Linked DNA regions of Homo sapiens: region 2 is linked to region 1. Evidence: promoter capture Hi-C in human tissues and cell types (Jung and others, 2019). All regions are on one chromosome and are shown on one strand. The core of a region is centred on a gene start or on the middle of the fragment in contact, and the rest is flanking DNA. Distances in the headings are between cores, read along the strand shown. Region 1 holds the start of C1orf105 (chromosome 1 open reading frame 105). Region 2 overlaps DNM3 (dynamin 3).

What was found. The method cuts DNA at HindIII sites, captures the fragments that hold promoters and counts their contacts. A contact is called where the count stands out against the background at its distance.
Region 2: a contact is called between a fragment that was not itself captured here and the fragment with the promoter of C1orf105 in region 1, in 2 of the 25 tissues and cell types used here (aorta and hippocampus).

Annotation. Positions count from the first base shown.
Region 1 is chr1:172,419,322-172,422,690 of GRCh38, forward strand. It overlaps C1orf105 (chromosome 1 open reading frame 105), which reads left to right and starts at 1,364. Exons shown (of 7, transcript NM_139240.4): 1 at 1,364-1,585. The coding sequence starts at 1,565. It overlaps LOC102724528 (a long non-coding RNA gene), which reads right to left. Exons shown (of 3, transcript XR_001738294.3): 1 at 3,176-3,369. The HindIII fragment of the contact is 11,853 bases long and covers 1-3,369 here.
Region 2 is chr1:172,350,462-172,353,585 of GRCh38, forward strand. All of the region lies in intron 17 of DNM3 (dynamin 3), which reads left to right. Among named protein-coding and RNA genes, the nearest start is that of C1orf105, 69 kb to the right of the region's middle. The HindIII fragment of the contact is 7,147 bases long and covers 1-3,124 here.

The DNA.
Region 1 (3,369 bases), core at 114-2,613:
AGTCAAAAAAATCATTCATCAGTTCTATTTACTTCACATCTGACCTAGGCAAGCCCTGGCAAAGGAGGTATTTGGAAGATGTGGGCAGGAACCCCCAGTTGTAAAAGGGAGAGTCCTCATTAGTAATGCTGTTTCTTCGGACCACAAATTTTTTTAAGGACTGAGTTCTCCACTCAAAAATGAAAAATCAGTTTCTTGGTTTAAAATGTTCATATGGCATGTTACATTATTTTAATTGTATCCCCGGTCCAGTGACTACCATTTAAAATCAGTGATAACTAAGAAAGTTCAAAGGCTCCAAACCAAGGCATCAACTGAAGCTCATGTATAGCAGGAAGGAGGTGACTTGATGTAAAATAGCACATAGCATGCAGTCTTTTGTCCTTTCCTTCCCCTCCAGTCCAGGCATTTGATTTTTAAATCAATATTCTTAGTGGATAGCATTCTTCATCCCAATAGACAAAAATGTACCTAGATGATTTCATACCACCTCCCCAAATGAAAACCGAAGTTGTCAAAGAGAAGGTTTTCTTCAATTCATTTTTTAAAAGTGTTTGGTACTTTTCCACTTTGTCTTAAACATGGACTTATTTTTATATGCAGTGTTACACAGTTTAGATGTATAAAACTTAAATTGACCTGATGAATGATGAGAAGGAAAAACTCCAGTCATAACAGAATGAAATGACAACCTTACTCAGTTTTCCTTAACAAAGAAGTGTGTTCCCTTCCTTACATTCTATAGGCAAGAAAAAAGAGGGCAGGGGAAAGGGATGGGGGGCAGCCTGGAGTAAAATTAAATTATGCTAAGATTTGTTAATATGTATTTAGTAAATAGTATTTCTATGTTTCATAATATACCTTTCCCCAACTCTTCTTACCTCCACCTCCACCCTGCTATGTTTAATAGACTTGAAAAATTACTCCCTTTTTCAGAGTTGATCATAACTCAGGATAGTCAGGAAGAGCCAAACTATTATGCCTTTAGTAAACATAATATTCCTTATATATTTTCATTCCTTTATTTATGCATCAAACATTTCTTGAATTCATGATAATGTCCTGGACCCTGGGAATACCAGAGAAGTAACAGAATAAAAGTAGCTTACAAAATAGCTAAATAAGCAATTACAATGTAGTGCTACAATAAGAGAAAAGTTTGGTTGTCTTTCCAGGGAGAACTGTTCTGACTTCAGTACTGAAGCAGCTATCTGAGTTTTAGTATACTGTTATCAACTTTACCCAACACATGCTAATGTTCCAGAACATTGTGATTTTGACTTCTAACAAAGAAAGGAATACTAGAACTCATTTCAGCCAATCAGAAACTGAGCTTTTCATTCTGAATGGAATTATATGATTCAAGATGTAAATCACACAGATGTTGGTAGAGAAAAAGGCATACTGGTATTGAAACTGTAAACTGGCCTGTTTACTTCGTCTCCTAACAAAAAACACTTTGGATTCAGGTTCTCCACAGCAGTCTTCCACTGGCCACAGTGAGGGGAGCTAGGTTTCCCCAGTCTCCAGCTAGAAAAACTCAGAACATCTAAAGATCTGAAAGATGGAAAAAAGAGAACTAAAGGTAGGAAAAAAATAAATGAAACTTCCAATTCTTTCCTTATGGGGTTACCCTGGTAAATGTTTGTATGCCTTGGAGGCCACATAAACATTGAGGGGTGTTTCAACAGACATCCTAGAAGTTGAAAGCCAAAAGAAGGTAAGGAAATAACAGCTGATGTTCAGTTACAGGTGAAGATAATTTTAATGGGTTTGGGGCATGATAAATTTCAATGCTCTTTATCGTATAGTTTGGAAAAAATGTTGTACTTGCCAACATCTTTTATAACTCAGCATTTAAGTATGATTTTTTTAAATCCTCAGAAAATTGATACCAGATTCTTTAGTGCAGTTCCCTGAGATTCTGAAGTAAACCTTCTCAACTGTGAATGCACTTTAAAACAATGAATCTCAGTCACAGGAAGTTAAGATTGCTGAGAAAGAAAAAAAAACTTGTATAGACTTTTATAATTACTAGGGTCTAAATCTGAATAAATCACATTGAGCTTATGACACTGTATGTTTCCTATTTAAAGGGATATACTAGCTGTCTCTATTACCATAGTACAGGTGCTCCTTGACTTATGATAGGGTTACATCTCAATAAACCACCACAAGTTGAAAATATTGTAAGTCAAAAATGCATGCAATACCCTGATGAACCCATGATAAAGTAAAAAAATCCTAAGTTGGGGAGGACGCAGAGCAAGATGGCCAAACAGAAGCCTTCACTGATTGTTCTCCATGCACGAACATCAAATTTAACAACTATCTACACAAAAAAGCACCTTCATAAGAACCAAAAATCAGTGATCACAAAGTGATCACAGTACCTGGTTTTAACTTCGTATTGTTGAAAGAAGCACTGAGGAAGATAAGAAAGACAATCTTGAATTGCTGACACCACCCCTCCCCCATCCCCTGGCAGCAGCCACATAGTGTGGAGAGAGAATCTGTGCACTTGGAGGGAGGGCACAGCGATTGTGGGACTCTAGAATTCAGTGCTGCCAATACGGGGCAGAACTTAGCTGTTGCCAATGGAGGGACCATTTAGACCACCCTTAGCCAGAGGAGAATTGCCCATCCCAGGTTTCAGAAACTGAGTTTTGACTACCTCCACCACCATGGGCTAAAGTGCTCTGAGGTCCTAAATAAACTTGAAAGCCTGTCTGGGCCACAACAACTGCAATACCCAGGCAAGTCCTAGTGCTGTGCTGGGCTCTGAGCCAGTGGACTGGGGAGCGCACGATCTAGTAAGACACCAGCCAGGATGGCTAAGTAAGTGCTTACAGCACCCCTCCCCCAACCCCAGGCAACACAGCTTATGGCTCCAAAAGGGACTCCTTCCTTTGCTTGAGGAGAGAAGAGGGAAGAGTGAAAAGGACTTTGTCTTGCAACTTGGATACCAGTTCAGCCAGAGTAGGATAGGGTACTGGGCAAAATCCTGAGGCACTCATTGCAGGCCCTAGCTCTTGGATGACATTTCTAGATATACCCTGGGCCAAAAGGGAACTGCCTTGAAGGGAAGGACCCAGTCTTGGCAGATTTCATCACATGCTGAATAAAGAGCCTTTGGACCCTGAAAAATCAGTAGCAGTAGCCAAGTACTACATACCGTGGGCCTCAGCTGAAACTCCGAAATGCACTGGCTTCAGATGTGACCCAGCACATTCACAGGTCTGGTGGCTACGAGGAGAGACCACTTCTGCTTGAGAAGAACAGAGGGAAGAATAAAGGGGACTCCGTCTTGAGCTTAGGTACCAGCTTAGCCACAGTGGGAAAGAGCACCAAGCCAGCTCTTTGGGTCCC
Region 2 (3,124 bases), core at 166-2,665, 69 kb before region 1:
ATATTCAGCCTTTTCAAAGATTACTTAACTGTCGTGGTATCACTACAGAGGAAGAAAGGAAATTCTGTAGTTAGTTTAGGAGAAAACGTAACGTAAAACAATTCTTCAAGGAACCTAGCAATGCAATAAAGTATCTAGATAATCTTTTAGAATATCAGAGCCTGGGGTATGCTAATGAAATCATGGGAGAAGAAAAAAGCTCCAGTTCTCACTCACATTAAAAGTGCTCTCTTTTACACAAGACACAATTCATAAAATCTTTTTATATCAGCAGGGAACTCATCTATCTGTATATACATGGAGGCAGGCAGCTGTTAACAGCATAGCATGACACTGCTGAACAGTTCAGGATGCAGGATAAGGAATATCATTCTATCATTCCCAACTGAAACAACATCAGAAAATGTAGACAGGCTAAATAGAATTATCCAAAATGGAGCCTGTCTGAAATTCCAAGTCTCCCAGAGACAAAAGTACTATTCACCTCTTCTTCCTTTCTATGGCTGAAATTCATTTGCATCCACTGACATCCTTTAAATTATTACCCTCCTGGGAAAGTCTGCAACCCTTGTAGAACACTTATAAACATTCAGTTGTTTCTGATCAGACCTGTGTTGTTTGTAGTTCTCCTGACTCATATTTTAGTATCTTAGGAAGGAAAATTTAGTGCCACAAATGTTTACCATCTATATTCTCTTGGTTTCTGAGACTTCCCATGGCAATTAAAAAAATTTAGATATTACACCTTTTGCTTCAAAGGTCATAATTCCAGAAGTATGACTCTTATCTGACCTTTTAGAATGATAAATCTAAGAAATTTTTGTGTTCCAGAGAATGAATACACAAAATGGGAACTAGTGAGTTCCAAAGCTTCTGCTATAGAATAATTGATGGTTTTCTCCAAATATTTGTTAAAATTTTAATATAATAAATACTAGGATTTTTTAAAGTAAACTTTTTTAGCAATAAGAATTTAGCACTTCCAAAGCAGCCACATGGTCTGTTGCCCAGGACTCCCTTAAAAATTGCTTTGCTGAGGCTGTTCAACATCTGTCAGCATTTTCTGCATAAACCATTGGCTCAAAAAAATTCTTCAGGCTGAAACTTGATATATCAGGTCTCAGCTTAGCAGTTTTTATGTGTTTTCAGGAAAATAAGTTTGGATGTTTTCAAGTTAGTGCTAGAGGAGAAACACATTCTAATACACCATTTCAAGACACCCTTTTATTTTATACATGGGTGAAAGGAAAACAGACTTCTACCCAACTAAAATGGACAGAAAATATCTAAACAATTGTTGTGAAGTTTTCTTCACACTGTATTGCTAAACAGGATGTCTTTATTGGAGCTATGTGACTACATTCTTCATAGAATGGCATATGGAACTCTGCCCAGCTTTAATGCCAGAGGTCAGAATGTGCCCACCTCCTGGCAGCTGAGGATGAATGGCTTAAGTGACAAATTCCGATCCGTCAGCTTCCCAGATCATTGAACAGCCAAAGGAGACTAATACAATAAACAACAGTTTGCCAAAAGGCATCATGATCCACTGGTGGATTGTGGTTTTACACAGCTTCAACATACATTATCCTGACGTCTAAAATTACATCTCAGAGTACAGCTGTGTGTGTAATACTGGACTTCATTCCACTGGATGATCCCATGTTGTCCACTTACAACAGGAATGCACTTTTGAACCTAGAGCTGTCACTACAAATCTCACTGTGAGTGTTAAGAATTCATGAAGAAATTCCAATTTATTGATTTGCAAGGATTTGCCTATGAAGGTAGAGAGATTGTATCTTAAAATTGCCATTCCATTAAAGGCTAAAAAAGTCATTTCAATGACTAAAGTTCTTATATCTTTTAGTTGACTATTTGTAAAGTGAACTTTTTTTTTCTTTTTATATGAGTGTTAACTGGAAATAGGCAAGGAATGAGCAGGACTTTAACATTCTAGTCCTCTGTGTCAGCTGTCTGTGTTACAGAATTTATTTGAACTATAGAGTCCCTAAATCACTACAGCATAAGCCTCAGGGAAAATAAAAACTCAAAAATGTATAAACAAACTATACTAAAATTGAGCTACTGAGCACCTTAGTATACTTGCTTCCCTTTAGTTAACGTATTTTCACCAACAAGGGTGTGTCTTTCAAGGCTATCTGGAGTATACCTGTGGTTTTAGAAATACCAAGTGACTCACCTCCAGTAGTTACAGTGGTAAGGAAAAAGTTGTTACCTCTTTCCTTTGGTGATTCTGGTGCACATTTGGAAGATACAGCTCAAAGCAATCAATACCCTGGGCCTCTGGCTTCTAATATATTAATGTCTGCTCTCTGGAAGACCCATATGCACCACCTGCCCTCTGAATCCTGAGTGATCCAGATCCTTTGGAGGACTTAAGTAAATAAAAATTAAGAGCAAAACAAATGGTCTTGAAAATCCTTTCCAATAGACACAAGCAAACACAATAGGGATCTGATCATTTCACTTTCCTAAATTTTCTGTTTCCCCATTCAGCACAGTGGAGGAGGACCTCTGAGATTACTCTTCTTTTTCAAATCCCCACCTCAAGGTATTCTCCTCACACTTCCGCCACCCACATACACCCCTGATGCTCCATCCACCAAGCAGCCATATCCACAGGCCACAGGTGCACCATCCTCTGCCCTGTTTCTGCACCTTTGCATGTGTAGTTCCTCCTGCCTGCAAGATGCTGTCATTTATTCTATACCGGATGAACATCTTCCTACCCATCAAAACCCAGATCACTCTCTGATACATTCTTTCTGCATTCCATGGAATATATAGATTTGACTGTTACTGGTTTATAATCAAATTTGTCATCTTTCTTCACAATAGTCCTAAGGTTTATGCCAGTCTTGTCCCTGTCTCACTAATAATGAAATTAAGATTTGTAGATATAAAATAATATGACACATATTAAAAGCACTCAGAAAGCTAAGGGTTTTTCTTCAGAGCTTTTATTCATTTTTGTATCTAATGTTGAAAACAAGTAAAAATATATACAGAAGAGCCCCTAGCTGAAATGTATTCATATGGCCCCCTGACCTAATCACAGATTCTTCTATTTCAACAGAACTTTCTTCCTCACAGATATAAG